Linked DNA regions of Homo sapiens: region 1 is linked to region 2. Evidence: promoter capture Hi-C in human tissues and cell types (Jung and others, 2019). All regions are on one chromosome and are shown on one strand. The core of a region is centred on a gene start or on the middle of the fragment in contact, and the rest is flanking DNA. Distances in the headings are between cores, read along the strand shown.

Region 1 (6,260 bases), core at 1,359-3,858, 260 kb before region 2:
GTCTCAAGAAAAAAAATAAAAATAAAAAATCCATACTCCGCTGGGCATGATGGTTCACGCCTATAATTCCAGCACTTTGGGAAGCTGAAATAGGAGGATCACTGGAGGCCAGGAGTTTGAGCCCAGACTAGGCAACATAGCAAGACCTTGTCTCTACAAAAAATAAAAAGTTAGCTGGGCATGGTGGCACAGGCCTTTAGTCCTAGGTATTCAGGAGGCTGAGGCAGAAGGATCACTTGAGCCCAGGATTTTGAGGCTGCAGTGAGCTATGATTGTACCACTGCACTCCATGCTGGATGACAGAGTAAGACCCTGTCTCTAAAAATAAAAATCCATACTCTGGCCAGGCACGGTGGCTTGCGCCTGTAATCCCAGCACTTTGGGAGGCTGAGGTGGGTGGATAATCTGAGGTCAGGAGTTTGAGACCAGCCTGGCCAACATGGTGAAACCTGTCTCTACTAAACATAAAAAAAAATTAGCTCGGGGTGGTGGTGGGTGCCTGTAATCCCAGCTACTTGGGAAGCTGAGGCAGGAGAATCGCTTGAACCTGGGAGGCAGAGGTTGCAGTGAGCCAAGATCGCACCATCGCACCATTGCACTCCAGCCTGGGCAACAAGTGCAAAACTCTGTCTAAAAAATAATAATATAATCCATACTCCATGAAGGCCTTCCACAAAGTAGACCTATCTTAGATTTTCAAATTTATCTTTCATCTTCCAAAGATAACTGGGCACTTTCCTACTTCTTTTTCTCACAATATGCTTCCTTTTTTTTTTTGAGACAAAGTCTCGTGCTGTTGCCAAGGCTGGAGTGCAATGGCGCCATCTTGGCTCACTGTAACCTCTGCCTCCTGGATTCAAGTGATACTCGTGCCTCAACCTCCCGAATAGCTGGGATTACAGGTGCCGCCACCACGCCCAACTAATTTTTGTTTTTTTTTAGTAGAGACAGGGTTTCACCACGTTGGCCAGTCTGGTTTCAAACTCCTGACGTCAGGTAATCTGCCCGCCTCGGCCTCCCAAAGTGCTGCAATTACAGGTGTGAGCCACTGCACCCAGCCACGTTATGCTTCCTTTAGCCCTTTAGCACTCCACATTTATCTTTTTTTTTTTTCCAATTGACTACTACGTGTGTTCTATTTCTAGGGTACTAATACTCAAAGCTCATCTTCTTCTTATAGCACTCCTTAGCCTCGTAGGAAAGACACTCCTTTCTCAGGATTCTCTAGCGCCCTGATTCTGCACCCAAAATTGGGAGTAAATGCTATGTAACCCATCTATTTACCACTTGTTTTATGCTGTTTGTCTACTTGTCACATTTTCTGTTAGGTGTCAAGCTCCTGGAGAGACAGGGATACTGGCTTTTTGAATTATGGGTAGCATTGGCTCTCAAACCTCCTTTCTACTTTGATTCACAACATAAAACATTTTTTTGTTGTTGGGGGGGCAGGGCACAGGTCTTGCTCTTTTGCCCAGGCTGGAGTGCAGTGGTGCGATCTAGGCTCACTGCAGCCTCTGCCTCCTGGATTCAAGCGATTCTCCTGCCACATCCTCCCGAGTAGCTGGGATTACAGGGGCCCGCCACCACGTCTGGCTAATTTTTGCATTTTTAGTAGAGATGGGGTTTCACCATGTTTCTCAGTCTGGTCTCGAACGTCTGACCTCAGGTGATCCACCGCCTCGGCCTCCCAAAGTGCTGGGATTACAGGCGTGAGCCACTGCACCTGGCCGCACATAACCCATTTATATTTGCAACAACACTCAACCATGGAAATATATAGATTATAAAATTAGATATCAAAATTCTCAGAATGTTGCTTATAACTTCATGTCTTTCTCCCTCAAAGTATATCTGAATGCAAGTTATTGAGATTAATGTAGGAATAATCTTCAGTCTGCTCTGATTCTTTTTTTTTTGAGAGAAGGTCTTGCATGGTGATAGGCACACACCACCATGCCTGGATTTTTGTTTTGTTTTGTTTTAATTTTTTGTAGAAGGGGAGGTCTCATTATGTTGCTCAGACTGGTCTCGAACTCCTGAGCTCAACCCATCCTCCCTCCTGAGCCTCCCAAAGTGCTAGGATTACAGGTGTGAGCCACTGTGCCTGGCCTTCTAGTTCATTTTTTAAATTATTCAAAGCTGCCTTTTTTAGCAACGAAACACTTGGATACTCCATAACTTGAGACTCCAGTGAGTCCTGACATCGAGTTTGGAAACTGTTCTACATATAAAATAATGAATGTTTAACAGGCAAAATTAAATGTAGGTCTAAATTTTTAGTAGCTCATGCCTGTAATCCCAGCACTTTGGGAGGCCGAGGCGGGTGGATCAGCTGAGGTAAGGAGTTCGAGACCAGCCTGGCCAACATGTGAAAACCCATCTCTACTAAAAATACAAAGAAATTAGCCGGACATGGTGGCACACGCTTTAATCCCAGCTACTCGGGAAGCCGAGGCAGGAGAATTGCTTGAACCTGGGAGGCGGAGGTTGCAGTGACCCAAGATCACGCCATTGCACTCCAGCCTGGGTGACAAGAGCAAGACTCCTGTCTCAAAAAAAAAAGCATAATCAGTTGATACCAATATTGAAATATTGCCTATTTCAGGTCATGTTGGGCCTCTTGTTAAAACTTTTGGAGTACAGAATTTCTGAAGTGCTGAGAAAAATATAAGGTAACCAGCATCAACATTTTTTCCTTTTCAGACTCCTGCCCTAAGAGCCATAGGGAATATCGTCACTGGTACAGATGAACAGACTCAGGTTGTGATTGATGCAGGAGCACTCGCCGTCTTTCCCAGCCTGCTCACCAACCCCAAAACTAACATTCAGAAGGAAGCTACGTGGACAATGTCAAACATCACAGCCAGCCGCCAGGACCAGATACAGCAAGTTGTGAATCATGGATTAGTCCCATTCCTTGTCAGCGATCTCTCTAAGGTAACGAAGTCTTAGGATTTAATCAAGTCATTTTTAGTATTTATAGAAAGCTGTGCTTGATAAGCTTCTTCATGTGCAAGAATCTTGGGTTCTACTAGGAGTCCTTTGCTGAACAATACCCAGTAACCCCTTTACTTAAGGTTGTATCAATAGAACCTTGGTACTTTCAGTCACCGTTTTTGTGAAAAAGTACTCTTGGAATCTTATTTGTGCAACTGTTCTGAAATAAAACCATTTCCTTATGTTTAATTGGCAGATTTTGAGACACAAAAGGAAGCTGTATGGGCCGTGGAACAGTTGAACAGATTGTGTACCTTGTTCACTGTGGCATAATAGAACCGTTGATGAACCTCTTACCTGCAAAAGATACCAAGATTATTCTGGTTATCCTGGATGCCATTTCAAATATCTTTCAGGTAAGTCCTATCAAGGTGGCTTTGTTTGAATTTGGACTTGATAATAATTGGTTTACTATTTAGACTTGGGGGAGGGCAGCTGTAAGTTTACTCACTAGTAAGCCACAGAATCAGAAAGCCTGTTTATGTGGCCACCCCTTTGATTAAAAATGTGGCAGGCATTATAAAAGATATAAAAGAGATGACAAGTGGATGGTGCGAACTGAATCGGAGTCAGGCGCTTATGTGGACTCATCACACCTGTTTACTTGGTTGATTTAATTTCCCAATTTCATACCGAATTTTGGTGACATTAAATTTGAATGACTTGGCCGGGCACAGTGGCTCATGCCTGTAATCCTAGCACTTTGGGAGGCTGAGGTGAGTGGACCACCTGAGGTCAGGAGTTCGAGACCAGCCTGGCCAACATGGTGAAACCCTATCTCTACTAAAAATACAAAAATTAGCCAGGCCTGGTGGCAGACGCCTATAATCCCAGCTACTTGGGAGGCTGAGGCAGGAGAATCGCTTGAACTCTGGGTGGGGGGCAGAGGTTGCAGTGAGCCAAGATTGCGTCACTTCACTCCAGCCTGGGCGAAAGAGTGAAACTCTGTCTCAAAAAAAAATTTTTTTTGAATGACTTAATTATATTTTTCTTCTGGTTCCACCCCTAACTGATCCAAGCATACCAGCATATGGCACTTTGCCGTAGTGATTGGTGGTAGGTAAGCCCTTCTCATCAACTTTGGATTCTAGAAATTTTTACATATAGAAGTTGAGCCTACAGGCTGGGCATGTTGGCTCACGCCTGTAATCCCAGCACTTTGAGGAGGCCGAGGCGGGTGGATCATGAGGTCAGGAGTTCAAGACCAGCCTGGCCAACATAATGAGACCCCCGTCTCTACTAAAAATTAAAAAAATTAGCTGGGCGTGGTGGCAGGCGCCTGTAATTCCAGCTACTCAGGAGGCTGAGGCAGGAGAATTGCTTGAACCTGGGAGGCGGAGGTTGCAGTGAGCCAAGATCACGCCATTGCACTCCAGCCTGGGTGACAAGAGTGAAACTGTCTCAAAAAAAAAAAAAAAATTGAGCCTACAATAATGGATGCTGGTGTATCTGTCACTGTGTATAAATAATTTGTCAGTATGTGGCCAGTATTTCTTCTTTCCTTCATCTAATCCCCTAAGTTATTTTGAAGCAAATCTGTTATTTCATCTATAGATATTTATGTATCTCTTAAAAGTTGAAAATTTAAAGAAAAACTAACCTACATACCATTCCATGTGCCCCGTAAATCCTTAATACCAACACACATTCTGTTCGGAGACATTTAGTTTAGCACTCCATAGGCCATCTTTGCCCTTAGACACCTTGACTACACCTTGTGATGATATAGGATGCTTTACGAAACAATACGCCCCTGTTCCCATAGCAGACCAGTTGAACTGGAGTGTAGTGTTGTTTTAAAAGTTGCCCACGTTGGCCAGGCGCGGTGGCTCATGCCTGTAATCCCAGCACTTTGGGAGGCTGAGGCAGGCGGATCACGAGGTCAGGAGATCGAGACCATCCTGGCTAACACGGTGAAACCCCGTCTCTACTAAAAATACAAAAAATTAGCCGGGCGTGGTGGCACGTGCCTATAGATCCAGCTACTTGGGAGGCTGAGGCAGGAGAATGGCATGAACCCGGGAGGCGGAGCTTGCAGTGAGCCGACTTCACGCCATTGCACTCCAGCCTGGGCAACAGAGCGAGACTCCATCTCAAAAAAAAAAGAAAACAGAAAAAAAGAAAAAAAAGTGGCCCATGTGATTTTGATACATACAAAAGGTTGAGAGCTACTGATTGTAAGATCTCTGGCTCCAGTCGAAGTACTGCTAAGAGTAGGTACAGATCCAATCACACTGAGTTTCAACAAAATATAGAATGGACATAAAACTATGATAGGCTTGATGAAGGAACTGTTAAGGTGCTTATTTCTGCCTGACATATCAATATTCAAATTTTCGATGTTTTCTTCATTAAAACATTCAGAGTATACGCCAGTAAACTTGGATTTTTTTTTTTTTTTTAGGCTGCTGAGAAACTAGGTGAAACTGAGAAACTTAGTATAATGATTGAAGAATGTGGAGGCGTAGACAAAATTGAAGCTCTACAAAACCATGAAAATGAGTCTGTATATAAGGCTTCATTAAGCTTAACTGAGAAGTATTTCTCTGTAGAGGTGAGTAATGGATGGTAATATTAATAACAACTTGGAAAAATGTAAAGCCAAGGCCATGAGCCCTTTTTTCCCTCATACTTTTAAAAATGAGCCTCATATCTTTGTTAAATATAGTAAAATATCAGTGTGCATAGGACGTAATGTACTTATTGCCCCTCTGATGTTTGGCTTGATGGTAATAAAATCTATTTATTTATTTATTTAGCTTTGGTTTCTACAAATTATTTTATTAGAATGTCAGACTCAAAAGGAACTACCAGTAACATGCCTGAACATGCTATATATGATTTATGCTTGACCCGTGACACCTGCTGTCACTGGATCCAGAGTGTGAACAAGGGAAAAGGAAGTGGATGTGGGCAGGGACAGCACCAGCCCTGGCTGGCCAGACCTCAGGCCCACAGACGTGGTCCCCATAACCACCAGGATCCCTACAATATACACATTCCTAATTCAGGCTCAACTCTCCTTTACCCAAGAGTAAATGCCTCAGGACTCAATCTGAATCACTGTCCGTCTCGGCTTCTTTCACATCCATGCTGAATTTGTACTCCTGGTCACATCCCATGTAAGCATCACTCATGAAGTATAGAGTGTAGTTGTGGGCACCAGTGGCTGGAGCCACAAAGTCCAACTTCACCTTGGCCTTCTGCTGCAGGATCAGCCTCTTGATGGAGATGAGGCTATTGGACTTGGTGTCTCCAATCAC
Region 2 (6,044 bases), core at 2,189-4,688:
CCATTTAAATGGTATTGGAGGGTGAGTAAAACCTTGAATGTGAAAACTTAAGCTGAAAAATTGTAAAAACATTTCACGCCTACCATGAATAGATCTGTTTCTTTCTGTCCACAATGATTTGTGTCATAGACATAATTGATCAATTTGCAATTGTTTTCTTGACAGGTCGTTCCAGGGGTAGAGGAGGCATGAAGGATGACCGTCGGGACAGATACTCTGCGGGCAAAAGGGGTGGATTTAATACCTTTAGAGACAGGGAAAATTATGACAGAGGTTACTCTAGCCTGCTTAAAAGAGATTTTGGGGCAAAAACTCAGAATGGTGTTTACAGTGCTGCAAATTACACCAATGGGAGCTTTGGAAGTAATTTTGTGTCTGCTGGTATACAGACCAGTTTTAGGACTGGTAATCCAACAGGGACTTACCAGAATGGTTATGATAGCACTCAGCAATACGGAAGTAATGTTCCAAATATGCACAATGGTATGAACCAACAGGCATATGCATATCCTGCTACTGCAGCTGCACCTATGATTGGTTATCCAATGCCAACAGGATATTCCCAATAAGACTTTAGAAGTATATGTAAATGTCTGTTTTTCATAATTGCTCTTTATATTGTGTGTTATCTGACAAGATAGTTATTTAAGAAACATGGGAATTGCAGAAATGACTGCAGTGCAGCAGTAATTATGGTGCACTTTTTCGCTATTTAAGTTGGATATTTCTCTACATTCCTGAAACAATTTTTAGGTTTTTTTTGTACTAGAAAATGCAGGCAGTGTTTTCACAAAAGTAAATGTACAGTGATTTGAAATACAATAAATGAAGGCAATGCATGGCCTTCCAATAAAAAATATTTGAAGACTGAATTAAGTGGAAATTGTACTTTATTTTATATAATGTCATGTAAAACTTTGCTTAAGATGGTCTGGTTTTTTTTTTGTTTTTGTTTGGTTTTTTTTTTCCATGAAAACAAATGACTGTTCCTTTTTATTTAATTTGGGAGGCAGGGGGAATCAGAAGGCCCTTCTTTATAATGAGCTATTCATATTGCAGGAGTCAGAATGAATTGATACAGGTGAATTTTTAGTTACAGGCTAAATTGCATAAAAGCTTTGTCAGCTTCCAGCATCAGGGGAGTCATTTAATAGCCTTTTTCCTTATTTGCTAGTATGGTTAAATGAGAAAATAGTAAAATAGATACAAAGTCATCTATATAGTGTGAGAACGTGGGTGACTTTTTCAAAGTTTATAATTTAAAAAGCTCCAAATAACTGGCTTTTTCAAGAGACTTATACTCATGCTCTTGGCTATACTGTGAATTACTGAAATGTTGAACAAACCTGTGAAAGACATACATTAGCCCTTTAAGATGGCCAGGAGCTAAGCTTGAGTCTCCTTTACTGAATTTCGTTCTTAGTGCAGGTTACTTGTAGATTCTAGTCTTCACAGGCTCCCTGGGGCTCTTAACTAGTCACACTGGGAGTCATGAATGTCTTTCCAATAATTCAGGGAATTCTAGAGATCCTCAAACTGTAAGGTCTATTCATACTCAACACAAGGAAAAAACCTCATTAAAATTAATGACTAATCAGGAGGCAACGTAACCAAAAGCACAGTGAATGAAAGTTTTCATGGTAGGTTCAACATGGGTTTATTGCTAGAAAGATCCAGGGGATAGCTTTAGGTTTAACTTCGGCTCACCAACGTAACTTTCTAATCATTTATTTCAGTAATAGCTAGAAGTGGGTCTGAATGTTTTCCCAGAGTCTGATACGTGTTTTTTTTTGCCAGAAGAGAGGTCTTCAGGAGACTTCATTTAAATTCTGATTATTAAACTGAGGCTTTAATTGATGTTAATGCCTTATGTCAAATGTAAAGTTAGAATTTGCTAGGGCTGGGATAGGGAGTGATATTTCTAGGACTTAGACATTGAAAACTAATTCAGCCTGTAGTAACCTGGATGGTTTTCAATGGCATGGTTAGTCAAATTCATGGTTTTAAACTTAGAAGCAGCTTTCGGGGGAGAGGGTAGGTTGGAGCATTTATTACATATTTTACTGTTTAATGTCTTAACCGTGGGCCTTTTAATTTGTAAACACTGAAATGATTGTTGGGCTGTGGAAAACATTTACCTATTTACCTTGGAAGTTTTAAAAGACAGTCCACTTTTTAGCATGTGTGTTGTGTCCAGCCTGTGGTCGTCTTAACTAATAAATGTGATTTTTCTCCCCATTCTCTCTTTTTATTTATTTGCGTATAGGCCTTTTACCTGGTGTGAGTTCCTGAATGTGGAAAACACCTGGCAGTAGTACCCAGCTTTGCAGTTAATTACTATCTAGCTGGCCTTTTTTTAAACCCTTGTATACACTTGTAAAGAAGAACTATTTCCTGAACCTGGTACAGCACTTTACTAATGATAAAACTTTACTCCTGAATTACATTAACTCAATTGCTAAGCTGTTACCCCTCTTAATCAGGTAGTAGTTTGGTAGTCTCACAGTGAAATGTAGATTGTTCCTTTTTCCCTGAACCTCTTTAAAGGTTTTCGTAACTGAGGCTGGTATAAGAAATCATGGACTTTGGAATCAAACTTCCTCAGTCTGGGTATACCACTTTTCCACTTTCTGGGTAGGTCTTAAGGTCTCGACCTATTTAAATAGAAACTGCAAAATCAGAAACCTGCAATTTAATCATGAGTCTCTTAATAATAACAGTCACAAGTCTCATTGTTTTGATGAACCCATAGAAGGGGCCCCTGGAAGAAATTGCACGTACGTGGTTTTCTCTGACACCAGGAGGGTTTAAGACATGTCAGGGCCCCTTGGTTTATTTCTAGTGCATTCCCAGGTGAGGCAGATGCTGCTGGCTGGGGACTGCCCTTTGGAAGCCACTGCAATATTTAAAGTGACCATACCACTACCCTAGTCACGAAGCCTATCGCCCCCCTCCCCGGAAGCTTAAGCGTCAAGACAACGGCTCTGGGGTTAGGCCTAGGCCACCTGGCGGCAGCATTTGCCTAGTTAAGAAGGCCTGGGCTTACAAATCACCGTAAAGGACTAAAACTGTTTAAAGGGAAACCAAATGCCAAATTTAGTCCAAGTGCTTGATTGAGGTGTATATAGAAGGTGATTTGGATAATACTGAAGTATTTTAATTTTCTGGACTGCAAAACAGTGGCAGAAGGAAGTGACTCAAGTGGCTACACCACGGTTATAAATAGGTGGGAATAACCTTTACTGGTGCTTACGAGGAAAGAAAAAAGTCAATCTGAAGGGAGGGGCGCGACGCGAACGGCAAGCTAGCAGAGAACCATCCGAGCCGGCGTCCGCCATGGTGGGCGGGGGACGGCTGCGGCCGGAACGCAGACATGCGCTTCCGGGGTGGGGCCTGCCGCCCGCAAGCACGCTCACCTCCGTTGCGCCTGCGCCGTGGCCTCTCCGGATTCTGTTAACGGTAGTGGTGGCTTGTTGGGATCCGTTGAGTGATGGGAGAGTGTGCTCTTTAACTTCGGAGAGAGATGCGCTCTCGTGTAGCCGTCAGGGCCTGCCATAAGGTCTGCAGGTGCCTGTTGTCTGGGTTTGGGGGTCGAGTAGATGCGGGGCAGCCGGAGCTGTTGACGGAAAGGAGTAGCCCCAAAGGAGGGCATGTGAAGTCGCACGCGGAGCTCGAGGGGAACGGCGAGCACCCAGAAGCCCCCGGGTCTGGAGAGGGAAGCGAGGCGCTGTTAGAGATCTGTCAGAGAAGGCATTTCCTAAGTGGAAGCAAGCAGCAGCTTAGCCGGGATTCTCTTCTGAGTGGGTGCCACCCCGGCTTCGGACCCTTGGGCGTAGAGTTGCGGAAGAACCTGGCCGCAGAATGGTGGACCTCGGTGGTGGTGTTCAGGGAGCAGGTATTCCCGGTGGACGCCCTCCACCACAAACCAGGCCCTTTGCTACCCGGGGACAGTGCCTTCAGGTTAGTTTCTGCAGAAACTCTACGCGAAATCTTGCAAGACAAAGAGCTGAGTAAGGAACAGCTAGTAGCATTTCTTGAGAACGTATTAAAAACTTCTGGGAAACTACGGGAGAACCTTCTTCACGGTATGCTTCACGATTTCATGCTTCAAAACAGGTGTCGGGTGGAAAGGCGAGGCAGTCTTGCTGGATCTTGGGGATTGCAACTGGCCCTGTATTCCCATGCAAGGAAGTTAGTTAGTTCTCATCTTTTTGAAGTAGTCGGATATATTAACAGTGCTCTACCCTGGAGAAAACTGGTCCATGGAATCATTGCTGTTCCTTAAACAATCTGTCCGAAGGACCTGGGAACGCTCTCAATTTCACGGGGCAACTTCTGAACACAGTGCTGTCATTTAGTGCAATGTAGTCTAAGTGCATAAGGAACTACACAGACATTTTGAACTTTTCTTAGATTTATTCTAAGTAAAAATGTTGAAATTATAATTCTGAAACTATTTCATGTATATCATAGGATAAATCAAGGCCAGGCGCAGTGGCTCACGCCTGTAATCCCAGCATTTTGCAAGGCAGAGGCGGGTGGATCACCTGAGGTCAGGAGTTCGAGACTAGCCTGGCCAACATGGTGAAACCCCGTCTCTACTAAAAAGACAAAAATTAGCCGGCCGTGACGGCGAGCGCCTGTAATCCCAGCTACTTGGGAGGCTGAGGCAGGAGAATCGCTTGAACCCAGGAGGCAGAGGTTGCAGTGAGCCGAGATCACGCCACTGCACTCCAGCTTGGGTGACAAGAGCAAAACTCCGTCTTAAAAAAAAAAAATTCAAATAGTTGGGTTAGTTGTTATTAGGAACCAAGATATTCATTGTAAAAGAAGAGATAATATGTAAAAGAAGGTACGTATAAACTAATGTTAAATATGGATTGGTAAATTAAATATGAATTGGTAAATTAAAATTGAATATGGGTCTCACTCTGTCACCCAGACTCGAGTGCAGTGGTGTGATCATGGCTCACTGCAGCCTCGACCTCGGGCTCAAGTGAACCTCCCACCTCAGCCTCCCAAGTAGCTGGACTACAGGCACATGCCACCACACCCAGCTAATTTTTGTGTTTTTTGTAGAGATGAGGTTTTGCCATGTTGTCCAGGCTGGTCTTGAACTCCTGAGCTTAAGCAATCCGCCCATCTTGGCCCCCCAAAGTGCTGGGATTACAGGTGTGAGCCACAGTGCCCAGCCTCATGATTTTTAAAAATATATTTCCTAACTTTCTTCGTTTAAAGTTCCTAGAAGCAATGACCCTCAGTAGCAATGAGCACACCTAGTGCCCAGATCCTGGTTCCTTTTTTTTTTTTTTTTGAGACAGAGTCTCGCTCTGCCGCCCAGGCTGGAGTGCAGTGGCACAATCTCGGCTCACTGCAAGCTCCATCTCCCAGGTTCACGCCATTCTCCTGCCTCAGCCTCCCGAGTAGCTGGGACTAGACTACAGGCACTTGCCACCACGCCTGGCTAATTTTTTGTATTTTTAGTAGAGACGGGGTTTCACCTTGTTAGCCAGGATGGTCTCTATCTCCTGACCTTGTGATCCGCCCGCCTCGGCCTCCCAAAGTGCTGGGATTACAGGCGTGAGCCACTGCGCCCGGCCTCCAGATCTTGGTTTCTAAGATGAACCAGTACTGGGAGAAATGGCTGATTCCGGGTCTGGGGTTAGGGAAAGTACAAGGTGAGTTTGAAACACTTTATGGTGCTAAAAAGCAAAGAATTGCTTGAAGACTAATGGGTCATATAAAAAGGTCACAGATGCTGGCTTGAGGAGGGTTGTCACTGGCCACATCTAGGACAAATTGAACATTAAGATACATATTAATGGTAATGGATCATAACACATTGACTAAAATCTAAGAGTCAATAGTATTAATCAAAAACAAATAATTGACCCTAGAGGTCGGGGGCGGGGGGAAGAGGTAGAGAAAGCTTATGTTTTTACAGAAGCTATGGAATAAATGTAGAAGGAAAGATACATTAGAAAATTCACCATTTCATGATATTGCAAACCCCGATATCATTGATTCAAGCAACAGTCATCAAT

What was found. Contacts are between HindIII fragments. The study calls those that stand out against the background at their distance.
Region 1: a contact is called between a fragment that was not itself captured here and the fragment with the promoter of POLG2 in region 2, in 3 of the 25 tissues and cell types used here (H1 embryonic stem cells, hippocampus and lymphoblastoid cells).

What each region holds. Positions count from the first base shown.
Region 1 is chr17:64,751,098-64,757,357 of GRCh38, reverse strand. It overlaps the pseudogene ARHGAP27P1-BPTFP1-KPNA2P3, the pseudogene KPNA2P3 and the pseudogene LOC101929240. Among named protein-coding and RNA genes, the nearest start is that of MIR6080, 27 kb to the left of the region's middle. The HindIII fragment of the contact is 7,908 bases long and covers 1-6,260 here.
Region 2 is chr17:64,494,448-64,500,491 of GRCh38, reverse strand. POLG2 (DNA polymerase gamma 2, accessory subunit) reads left to right here and starts at 3,438. Exons shown (of 8, transcript NM_007215.4): 1 at 3,438-4,085. The coding sequence starts at 3,524. DDX5 (DEAD-box helicase 5) reads left to right here. Exons shown (of 13, transcript NM_004396.5): 13 at 166-2,238. The coding sequence ends at 569. It also overlaps a transcript of MILR1 not described here. RefSeq lists enhancers at 3,161-3,300, 3,681-3,750, 3,402-4,261. The HindIII fragment of the contact is 4,462 bases long and covers 2,178-6,044 here.